2 separate regions of the Homo sapiens genome follow, and region 1 is linked to region 2. Evidence: promoter capture Hi-C in human tissues and cell types (Jung and others, 2019). All regions are on one chromosome and are shown on one strand. The core of a region is centred on a gene start or on the middle of the fragment in contact, and the rest is flanking DNA. Distances in the headings are between cores, read along the strand shown. Region 1 has its middle 79 kb from the start of PALS2. Region 2 holds the start of NPY (neuropeptide Y).

What was found. The method cuts DNA at HindIII sites, captures the fragments that hold promoters and counts their contacts. A contact is called where the count stands out against the background at its distance.
Region 1: a contact is called between a fragment that was not itself captured here and the fragment with the promoter of NPY in region 2, in 1 of the 25 tissues and cell types used here (H1 embryonic stem cells).

Annotation. Positions count from the first base shown.
Region 1 is chr7:24,491,441-24,497,505 of GRCh38, reverse strand. No RefSeq gene overlaps it. Among named protein-coding and RNA genes, the nearest start is that of PALS2, 79 kb to the left of the region's middle. The HindIII fragment of the contact is 5,765 bases long and covers 1-5,398 here.
Region 2 is chr7:24,281,753-24,288,072 of GRCh38, reverse strand. NPY (neuropeptide Y) reads right to left here and starts at 3,883. Exons shown (of 4, transcript NM_000905.4): 1 at 3,798-3,883; 2 at 2,645-2,832. The coding sequence starts at 2,832. All of the region lies in intron 2 of LOC107986777 (a long non-coding RNA gene), which reads left to right. The HindIII fragment of the contact is 14,633 bases long and covers 1-6,320 here.

The sequences.
Region 1 (6,065 bases), core at 1,267-3,766, 210 kb before region 2:
AACAATTAGGACAACTGAGGCCTTGCTGTCCAGTTTGTGCTTTTAAACCGAGTCAGATTCAGTTCTTCTCATGTTCTCTCGCCTCTTCCTGCCCTACTGAAGTGGCCTCGTTGTCCGGGGTAAATACCCGAGGTTTGTTGCCTCATGCCAAGGAAATCAAGGACACGGACACATGTGGAGTGAGGTTAAGAGCAGAGGTTTAATAGGCAAAAGAAAGAGAAAGGAGAACAGCTCTCTCTCCTTGAGAGAGAGGGGCGCCTGAGTGGGACTTCTGGCCCATGGCGAGTGCACAGGGTTTTATAGACAGGCTTGAGGAGGCAGTGTCTGATTTACGTAGGGCCCAAAGATTGACTGGGCCAGGTATGACATTTACATAGTGCACAAGGAAGCCGGCCACCCCACCCTAATCTTTTATTATGCAAGTGGAGTCTCTGCTTGGCCGGTGCTATGTAGCCTGCTCCTTACTGTGCATGCGGTTGACAAGGAAAGGGGAAGATGGAGCCTCCATATTGGACATGCGTGGCCCCCAGGTAGCCCTTTCCTGTTAGCACAGCTGCTGGCATTCACCCATGCAAGTGCAGCTCGATTTTACAAGCTGCTCTTTGTTAGAAAACAAAATGATTTTGGGGCTGCTTTTCATTAAAAGGAAAACCTTACTAAGGACTTCCTTACCCTTACTATCTGCCTAAATAATTTCTTCTTAACTCCTATAGCACTTACTCAGAAAATGAATTAAAGTTAATTACTTCTCAGAAAACTTGTCGACTCAACCTTCATTCTACAAACATTTCACAGAGTGTGTACCATGTGAAACACTCTGCTGGTTGCTGAGGAGTAGGACAAGATGGGCATGGCCTCTGCCTTCATGGAGCACCTACTCAGGGAGTGCTAAGATCCCTTTGCACCTGGAGCTCTATCTGTCTCCTGGATTCAAACTCCAAACCACTCCCTTGTTTCCTACCTGCAATTTAGTATTATACCCACTAAGTACAAATTGGGTTCTACAGGTACAAGAGAAATAAAGATAAATAAAATGTAGTTCTTGAATGCAAGGAGCTTATGATGAAATGAGGCCCTTAGGCCAACAGCTACTGTATAGAAAAAGGTGGGCTATGGTAAGAACAATGAAAGGGACAGAGTGGAGCAGGGATCTTAAAAAATAATCATTGCATTAGTCTGTGGGCACTGAAAGGTTTCCTATAGCAATCCAACATGGGCTTGAGGAATGCCAAGCTATTCTCTCATAACTCTGGAATTTAGAATCATCAAGTTATGGAATCTTAGAATTGGAAGTGTCCTTAGACGTCTACATATCCAAAAATTCTTTCTATGGCCTCTGCTGAGCCTCATTTGGCTTTTGCTTGAATTCTTCTCACATCTTCCCAAGAAGTCCATTCCATTGATAGAAAACTAATTGTTAGAAATAACATTTCAAAACAGCTCGGTTGAAACCTGCTGTCTCTAAGCTTCCGTCATTGATTCTATACCTGCTGTTTTCCCTACTTACCACTTTAATCAAATACCTGAATGAAGATACAGAATAGCTTACTGATTTTTCCCATGATAGAAGCATAGGAGTGATGGCAAACACTACAAATGACTTAAAAAAATTCAAAACTAATAAGTGAAGATGTAATAGTAATATATGTAAAATCCTGCATTTAGATTCAAAACCATCAATTATAGAATGGGAGAGAATTGGCTTGGTAGAAGCGCCTGTGAAAGCAACCTAAGAGTTCAAATTAATTCTTAATTTAATATGAGCCAACAATATGATGTGACTGTTTAAAAAGCTAATAATCTTGGGCTGCACAGCTAGAACAGTGCCAAGATCATGGAAAGTAATAGCCCCAATATATTCTGCCTTGGTCAAATTATATTTATATGCTGTTTTCAACTTTGCATGCTACATTTTAAGAGGTGTATAGATACAAATGCTACCACTATTACATCTAGCAATAAGGGCATCTGCCCTGGTCACAGGTTTTAGAGGGCTCTACGTATGACAAACATTGATAGAGAAATACTTTTTTTCTTTATGTTTTATAGATTTTTTTGAAAATTGGATAACTGATCAAATGGAAATTTTGGTAAAGGGACACATGTGGGAACTGGACCCTACTCCAGCCTCACAGGAGGATGGAGGATGCTGGGATGAGCACATGATGGGGTACTTAGTGGGTAACGATATGGGGGGTGGCAGGGAAGTGCTGGGTAGAGAGCCCTGGTAAGGGCTCCACCCGTGGGCCTGTGCCCACGGACCTAAGTGGGGACAAGCATTCCTGTTTTTGTGCTCAAAAAGTTGCTTTTTGGCCCACCATGCCCTCCATCCTGTGCTCATATAAACCTGAGACCTTAAGCAGGCACAGACACAAGTGGCTGAACATTGAGAAGAGCAGAGGAACACATCAGCAGACACCAGCAGACACCGGCAGACACTGGCAGACCAGCAACAGTGGAACGACACAGACGCCCAAGAAAGTTAGGCCGGGGATGGTTGGAGAAGAGTCTGGCCACTGGGTGGCCAAACTCCAGGGGAACACCACCTTCCCACTCCATACCCCTTCCAGCTCCCCATATATCTCCCCATCTATCTGCCACCTCCACCACACAATAAAACCTTGCACTCAGCCTTTCAGCCCACATGTGATCTGATTCTTCTGGTACACTGGGCAAGAACTCAGGCTGTCACACTGGCCACCTGTCCTTGTGATAAGGCAGAGGGTCTATTAAGCTGACTAACACAAGCCATCTGCAGATGGTATAGCTGAAAGAGCATACTGTAACACGTGCCCACTTGGGCTTCAGGAGTCCTAGATGCTGCTGTGGGGCCAGAGCCCAAAAGCACTCTCCATGGCCTCTGCACCTGCCCATCTGCATGCTCCCCCTAGGGTTTGAGCAGCCAGGTGGGAAGCTAGCCACACCCCTGTCACATGCCCTGTGAGAGAGATAAGGAAACGCCCCCATCTCAGTACGACGGGGTAGTAGTTAGAAGAAAATCATAGCCTCTGTCTAGAAATCTGGCAAAGAGCTGGGCTGCTGTGTTTAATGTTGACCACCCCAAATACCCCAGAGTAGGTGTCTGGGCAGGCTGGGTTTCTCAGCTGACTGCACTTTTTTGAGGAGTAATTTTGGGAAGCCTTTTGAACTGCTTCTGTTGGAAAAGCAAGGCAGCCAAGGGAATTAGCCTGGGGCTCTCTATGGTGATAATGACCAGATGACCAGGCTTGTCCCTATCCTAGTGCCCGCCCTGGGCTCCTGGGCCCAGGAGCAGTTTCCATCTTGCCCCTATCCCAGCATATCAGTGCTCCCATCCAGGAAAGAGGATGGCTTTTTTAGCCTTTGCATTTCAAGGGTGATTCTCTGGGATGGCTGTGGGGCCTTGGGTGGAAACATGAGCTGGGCATGAGCCAAGCTCGACTTATAACTTCTAAATATTTAGACATACGATTAAGTGGCCTCCATTTATATTCTACTCAGCCTGTAAGTGTCAGATAAAACATTACAATTTCTCTAGTTTACAGGAAGAAGATTCCCTCTATTAAGGTTATATTAATGACCTCAAACAAAGGACTTGACCATCTGTATCCTTACCCTTCTTTTTTTCTTTTTTTCACAATTGAGTCATCTATGTAAAATACCTGACATACAGTAAGTGCTCAAAAACATTAGTTTTTTTCCCCTTTAACTTTCTTTTGTTCCCATCTTCCATGTACAACTACAAATATCAGCATTTTTCACAAGCTTCACCTTGATCTGAGCTCTGAAATTCTATTCACACAGGATCTTTTCTGTTTAGCCTTGATTCTGAGCCCCTTCTTCTAGTTTTTGCATGTCTTTTAAAAATAAGGACTACTTCCAAACTCTTGGATATCCACAGTGGTTTCCATAGATATTTCCCCCTTTCTTTCTCATCTAGAGTGTGTGCATGTGTGCCTGAAAGAGAGAGAGAGAGAGAAAGAATGAGAATGAAGGCAGGATTTTACTCCCTCAAATCCCCCTCTCTTTCTGAGACCTGTTATTTCCTTTTAGAGTCTCAAATCCTGGGTTTCATTATAAAACTTCCACATCTATCTTTTCTTTAGCCATTTGGAAAACAATTTAAAATATCAGTGTGCATATTTGAGTATGTTTTCCTTTGTATCAGGGTTCTCTGATTTTAGGTTATAGAAACAGACTCTGACACAAGAAAAAAATGTTGCCTGAAAGAATCCCTGAGGGTTCACAGATTTAAGGAGGAAGGATACCCCCGACCTTGAGAAGAGCAGTACTCAGACCAGCTCTTGGAATTTTAAAGAAATACTTGGTTATTGAGTGACTTGGCTCCAACTGCCTACTGTCTCTGCTCAGTGTGCTGGTTCCATGAAGCGAGACTCTGATTGGGCAGTGTGGTCAAGAGGAGTGAAGACCTGTAATTGGCAGCCTCTGTAGAACCTCAGAGGGCTTGGATAGGGCAGGTCCCTATGGAAAGGAATGCCAAGGGAGCAAATCCACACATACCCATCTCACATACTGAGCAATGTTTGAGATTATTGTTGAGGTCTCCATCACTTCAGTATTAAAAGTGTTCAGATTGAAGGCTAGAAAAATACATTTCTTTCATGAGCATTTGCTATCTGCTGTAAAATTCTCTGCCTCGCTTAAATATTTAAGACTTAGTTGAGGAAAGGAATATGAAGAATGGGAGAAAGAACAGGTTTGCCAAGTGTTGGGGGTGGGGAGAGAGGTTGGTGAGTGACTTTGGATCTGTTTAAAATGTCTTTGGGGCATGCAGGCAGGGCTGTCCAACAGCCAACTGGAAATATGGATCTTGAGCTCACGATAAAAATCAAGACTAAGACAATAGACTTGGAAGATAACTACATACTATTCATTCCATCTTTTAACTAGATACCCAAGAGCTATTATTAAATACCTACTTCATATCAGACACCATCCGGGGCTTGAATCACAAAGTCAAATAAGTCAAGGGGGGGCAATTTTAAAGAAGCATTTGGGAGACAATAGAGAAATAAATTAATAATTGTGATAAAGCATCTACTTGGGCAATGTTTGAGGTTTGTTAAAGATGCCAGGGGAATACAAAGGAGGGACACTGAAAGTGGTTCCTGATCCTCTGCTCTCACTTGCATTGATAGAATATATTCATACCCTTGACTCTGCTTTGATAGTAGAATCTGTCCCTATCCTGGGCCCATCCTGTGCCCCCTGCCCCACCTCTAGCCAGCCCCTTGAATGGTCTTTACCATTCTGTAGCCTCTCATAGTCCTGGAACTGACAATAAAACACCTTAGATGTAGAGATTTGGGCTAAAGATGACCTAATGATAATAAAGATATTTCGTTAAAAACATATTAAGAATATGCAGACATAGCCTGAAAAAGGCTATGTAAGACAGTATCTATTATTTTTTATAATTCTGTTCATTTCTTAACTTTCCTTAGTCAACCCCGTCTTTTTCAGCCCAATTAACTACTATGGCAGCATAGGTATACTTAAAAAAAAAATTCAGTGATCTAACTAGAATTACAATTTTAGTTGCACTATTTAACTTCATTAGGGTGCTGGAACAGAAGATCTAGAATAGAAATAATTCGGAATCCATTTTTAATTTTCTCTGCTACCAAATCTTTTTGAATGCTTATTTTTTCATTAGTTTTAAATACTTGTTCTGAACAGAGAGTACACCATAATGTTTTTGCAAAAAGTACTGACATCCTTTTTAGTACTAATGCTTAATCTGCATTATTTTTTCTGTTTAATTACATTGTATAAAAATTTACTATGCATTAGTCTTAAAAATGTTAATGGGTGTTTCATAATAGTCTGCTTTTTCCAATTATATAAAGTACCCCTTTCTTGGCCTTAATACTTTATTATATTTTAGCAGAATGCTTGATGTTTTGAAAAAGTACTTAAATATTTATGTATAAAGGTTTATTTATCAGTTTCTGGGGTAAATTTCAGTCTTAAAGTTCATGTACCTCTCCAAGTGAAGATGTCAAAATTAACCCATCAGCTTTAAAGGCAATTTTTAACGTCTTATCTTTCCTAGTCTACTATTT
Region 2 (6,320 bases), core at 2,634-5,133:
TTCAGTACTGTTCACTCTTCTTCCTTCTTTAATTAATTCTGGATCATCCTTCCCCTCTACAATGCTGTAACTTTCAAAGATTGAGTCCTTAGAGTAAAGATTCTCAAACCTGGCTGCACATTAGAATCACCTGGGGAGTGTTAAAAACACACTCTAAAGCCCAGGCCCCATCCCAGAGGGTCTGATTTAATTGGTCAGGGGTGGATCCCAGCATCAGTGTATTTTAAAAGCTCCCCTGATAATTTTAATGTGCAGCCAGGAAGGAGAAACACTAATCTAAGGCTGAGTTTCTCTGGGACTGGCTATTCTGTGTAATGGGGGCTGTCCTGGGCATGGTAGGATATTTAGCAGCCTCCTTGGCATCTATACACCTAGGTACCAGCAGTGCCCACCTCCAGTTGTGAAAACCAAAAATGTCTCCAGACACTGCCAAATCACACCTGGGGAGCATAAAATCACCCCCAGTTGAGAACCACTGATTTAGGGGGCTATATAAATAAATTGTAGGAGACCCACACTCTAGAATAAGTAATGCAGCTTCCAGAAGCAATGAGCCAGGGGTATATATACAGCAAAAGGAATATAAGCACAAATTGAGTGCAGGGGGAATGCTGGTGGCGGGGGGCGGGGGGAAAGAAAGATAATGATATCAGATTATATCTATACTAAATTAAAGCACATCCACAAATGACCCTGTAATTTTCAGAAACGCACATAGGAGTGGGTGTCTGTGGTGGGAAGGAGAAGATGGACGTACATTAAGAGCCTCTGCTGGTTTCTAAGAAGGAGTTTATACAAAGATGAGACAGGAAACTCTGCCTCAGAGACCAGCTCATTCCCATCTAAGCTGAATCTCTTGCCATGAAACCCAAGTCCCTTTCCTTTATGTTTTTTTCTCATCAAACATGTTGGAGATAACACTGCCTGTTGATGGTGGTGACAACATCCAAAGACACTCAAAGGAGGGCTCCAATTCCATAATTCCTATAAAAATAGCTTCCATGAAATGTCATTAGCTTCATGATTTGTGAAATGAAGATAATTATACTCCCTTCAAAGCTTTGAGGTAACGACTGAATGAGAGAATGCCTAGGAAAACATTTTAAAATGCTAGAGCTTTGTAAAATGGTAAAGCTTTATGGCAATCATCTTCGGAAAAATGAGTTCTACTGTGTATTATGCTACAGCTAAATAACTAACAAAGGTTTTTCTAGAAAAAACAGTTAATATCTTTTTGTTTGTACAAGTTCTCTTTGATCTGCATGACGGCATAACATAGCAAGAATTTGAATCAATTAACTTTCTGGGAAGTATGGAATATAAAATATTATTGCTTTTTGCTAATTAAAATGATCAGATTTCAAGGGATCACAAACAACTACTATTTAATTCTGGCATTTTCATGTTTTTCAGATTCTATATAAATTGGGGCTTTTTCAAAAGTGTTTTAGGATGTTAAATACCTTTTTGATGAAACAGGAAAAAGCAAACTTTATTTTAAAAGTATAAATCTTCCCCCCTTTTGGATCCTTTCCAACTACTCCCTGACTTGTAAACAGTAAAAATATGGACTAAATAAATAAATATATAAACCCCACAATACTTTAAACATATAATTTAAACATGTTAACTAACATTAATGCTTCTAAAGGGCTTATCCTTTAGATACGGTCAAATGACTAAAATCATTTAATCTCAGTAATTAAAATAAGATATTAAATGATTTAGAACTAAGATCAACCAATTTTGAAAACAAAATTTAAATCCTATGTAATTTGTAAAATAGTTTGGATTTGATTTTTCCCTTAATTGTCAATGTTGAGAGTGAAAATATGGCATTTCATTTTGACTTTCGGAATGTTCAGAATAAAGTTTACAATTTCTCAGATTCCATGTAATCCCTGAATTCATCCTAAAGTTACTGGACCAACGTAAGTTTCTTCTTAATGAAATACCAAGTGGGCACTTTCTTTTCAGAATTCACCAGCTATAAAATAGGGAGACCTCTGCATTTTAGATAAACTGTTTTCAGGCTAAATCTCTAATTATTGGGACTAGAATTTTCAAATATGGGAGTGAGACTGCAAAAAAAACACAGTGAAGAAGAAAAGAAAATAGCTCTATTTGTCTTTTTCTAAATACTGTCATTCAATTAGCCCTGGGCAGGCCGGAAAGTCTGACAATGTCTGTGGCAACCCTGCAGTTTACTCCTTGGTTTGGTTTTCTTTGGTGGTCGTTCTGTTTCTCCTAGACACCTTGCTAGCGTTTCCCCCTACAGCATTTCTCTGGCGCATTCTTGCCCCTTTCACTGGGTACTTTCGAGATTTCTGGACCGGGCCCCACTGCCGTAAGAACCACAACAAACCATAAGAGGTGAGTGAGAGGAGATTGCCAGCCTACCAGCCTGGGGAACCTGAATCTGGGGATCACGACTCTGTGACTGTAGTTGCACAAAATGGAAGGTACCCATTTTGTGTAGAGTGTGCCCTGTACAAACATTTACCTAGAGCTGACTAAGTGCCTGATACTGTCCTGCCCTGGGATAGAGCGAAGGAAAAGAAACAATCCCTTTCCCTAACATCCCCAGGATCTCCTGGTGTGCAGGCACTGGCGCTCCCGGAATCGGTCCCGCGGTCCCACCCACCTCTGCCTGGTGATGAGGTTGATGTAGTGTCGCAGCGCCGAGTAGTATCTGGCCATGTCCTCCGCTGGTGCGTCCTCGCCCGGGTTGTCCGGCTTGGAGGGGTACGCCTCGGCCAGCGCACCCAGGCACACGAGCAGGGACAGGGCGAGGGTCAGTCCGGACAGCCCCAGTCGCTTGTTACCTAGCATCTGCAGGCACAGAAGGCTCAACGGACGGGCTTGGGGATTCAGAGCACCCACGCGCAGCACCTCCCTCCTCTGCCCCCCGCGCTCCTCCTCCTGCTACCACACGCGACCCCCAATCCGCTCTCGTCCCAGTCCCGCAGAGAGAACCCAGGAGTGGCTAGCACCACCTTGCGGGCTCCGGGCGCCGTCCGGTCGGGACCTGCCCCTCTGCTCCACCTGAAAACTTCGCGCAACTTCGTTCGAAGTCTCAGGGACCAAGAAGCGCGCGGCGAGAGTGCAAGGTGGGGGCCCCGCCAGTTTAGCATTCAAAACCGAATTGGAAGTTCTTCCTGCTGGGTCACTTTTCTCCCTTCTTGCCCAAACTCTTGTCTGGGAAGAAAAGTTTCTTCTCTGTTACTTCTGGTCTGCCTAGCTTCAGGGGATCAACGCTGACAGCAGAGATCACCTCGGGGTGACGACTGCGGTGGGGAAGGGGAAAGAGAATTGCTCCCTGGGCCAGAATTGCTCCAAAGAGATTTGGAGCCCAAGAATCCAGGGAGGTGGCAGGGCGCGGGGCTCTAGAGCTCCAGGGATTCCTCACTCGATGGCGCTGCCGGGGAAACCTTCCTACCGCGCACCGCTTCCTGGGCCTCAAGGCGGCGACCCGCAGGGAGACCGCCAGCTGCCTTGGGATAGCGGTCCCGGGTTCTCCCTCCATATCTGCTAAAAGGTAACTCAGAAGAACCGCCCAGCGGGAAGGGCCCGGGAGAAGGGCCGTGGACAATCAGAGGGGAGCAGAGGAACAAGTGGAATTTAGCCGCCAAGAGGGCTGGTCCGCGTCGGGGCGCGGAGCCGGCATAGTCCGCTGGGGAGTGGAGCGCGATCATCCCAGGGCCCCAGGGCTCCACAGAGCGGGAGGCTGCGTCTCTAGCAAGTTCGCGGGCGCCCCGTTCGCTCCCACCCCTAGACAGACGGGTCGTAGCACTCACGGTGGCTGGCGCGCGGGCGTGGCTGGGCGGCAAGTACTATGCTGTCGGGCGAGCGTCTCCGAGGGGTGAGAGCCAGCGGATGGGGTGCAGAGAGCGGGTCGCGACAGGGCTTTTATGGAGCTTCCTCGCCGCGGCAGGAGGGGCCTCGGGCAGTCACGCTTGGGTGACTCCCACCCGCCACTTCCCGCCCCTGAGTGGCGGGGGGAGGGGGCTGGAACCGCAGCCGCACGAGTGTCGACTTAGGGAGCCACCCACACCCCAACCCTCCCGCCCCAGGCACTGCCTGAAGAAGCGGGGCCTGGGACCGCGTGAGCGAGGCAGCGCACTCCGAGCGCGCTGGACAACACCAAAGCCCAAGTATCTGCCCTCGGGCAGTGCCCGATCCCTGCTTTCCTTCTTTCCTTCTTTCCTTCACGCCCCGTCTAGTCCTGCCAGAGATAGGAGCAGCCCAGACGATTCTTGTCTCCTGCCAACAGGACTACCAACCCACTGGGTGCCGGAGTAGGAAGCACCTGAATCCTCTTTGTGGTGGGGCATCTCCACGACTAGCGCGGCATCCTCGCCGGGCACAACTGCGCGCTGTTGGAGTGAGGCAACTGGGCGCACAGATTTTTCCTGTACTTAGAACAAGTCGGAGGCAGCTGCCGGAAGTCTCCGGCTAGAGGGTCCCAAAGCTGCGCTCCCCACCCCACCCCCGCCCGTGGTTTCAGGGGCTTCTGCCCCTTCTCTCAGCTGGTTTTTCTAGATCAGCCTTCCTCAAGTACTCGCTCAGACGCAGCGAGCCAGGCTCGGTCGAGACATGAGTGTGGCGACTCAAAATTCCCCAGAGGGGGAACACGGTAAACCTATTCCCCCAGTTTGCTGAAAAAGAGCCACGCTTCCAGCTTCTAGAGACTCTTTTAAGCTCAATTTTAAAAATATATATTTTTTCTTTTTTGGTCCAAAGTGACGGTGGTTAAATGAACAACAGTTTCTGTCTTATTTACTAACCCTTGTATAGTCCTATGTACGTTCAATTAACGTTGAGAATGTGGGTTCTGATTAAGATGAAACATGTTAAAAACGATGAACATTAATTTGCTCATCGCGTTAAACCTGTTGAATGAATATGCAAGATACAGAAACTATTATTACAGGATCAAGATTTTATGCAGTGGACTGAGATCTGAAAGTTCCGTGAATGAATGCTCCTGTATCTTTCTAAATAAAATGGCATTTTATTTCTAAATGAAATATAAGTCTGAATCTTTCTAAATAAAAAGGCATGTTGGGAAATTAAAGCATTAAGTTCCATGTTATTTTAATGCTAAAAGGACAAGTGATTCTGTTAAACTGACACTTAGTTTTTGTGCTGTTCCAACAGCATTGAATTAAATATCAAAAACCGTGAAGCAAACAATCCTTTGCATGTATGTGTTTGTGTGTTTGTGGGATCAAACTATAATTTTGGAGACCAACATCCCTTTCACTTGGCAACTGCTTCTCTTTCTGTATTACACAAACATATGCTGAGGACACAAAAATCAAGGCTCTCAGAGTTGCTCGGGGGTGCTTACAAGACACAGCCTTCGGTAAAAGTGCAAAACATCTTCTAACTTAGAGCTCTTCCTAGATAAAGGGAAAGTTACAGTCCACTTTTCAATAAAATAATCTTATTTTAGAGTGTATCACAGATTCATATCAATTAAAATCTGAACTTAAAATGTATCACTGAATTTGGGAAAAATTACTTCTAGGAAGGCCCACACCACTATTGAGAGAAGAACACTGTGGAGGCTTGATTAATTTAGCTTAAGATAATGTCATTGATTCTCAAGAATAAGAACTTATTCTGAGGGTTAAGGATTCAGAGAATAAAAAATAGGGGGTGATATGCCCTACATGTGCTTACATCCTTATCTCCTTTCTCTCCAGTCCAAGCCACATCCCCTGGCCAAAATACAAACAAAACCAACTGTTGGCAACTCAACCCTGCATCTTCTCCTAGCTGCTGAGCCATTTCTCTCCTTTGTTTCAAAGTCAAGTTGTTTATTTCTAACAGCTTTGTTAAGATAACATTGAGATACTGTTGAGCTTGTTGAGATTCAAAAGGAGGTGAATCAGTGGAGACTAGAGAAGGTAATGACCGAGAGAAGTCAAATAACCGGTAAAGGTCCATGTGGTTTGCAATTAGGAGGTCTTACTGATAGCAGGTTCATAGCTTGATTCAGATAGAACCTGGACCACATGAAACCCAGTGGTTTCATGACTAAACCTAAGGTAAAGAAGCAGAAGGAATGAATAGATACTGCTGAATATATACAAAGCTACAAATGTGTAAAATATTCAATTGGATATATTCTTACACATATGCATGTGTGTTATATGCTCAGGAAGCCATCACTGAAACCAAGAAAATGAAGATTATACATCACTTCCCCAAATTTCCACATGTACCTTTGTAATTCCTTCCTTTTGCCTCTTCCTCACCCCCTCCTCCATTGATCTGCTATCACTAGAGATTTGTTTGCGTTTTCTAGAATT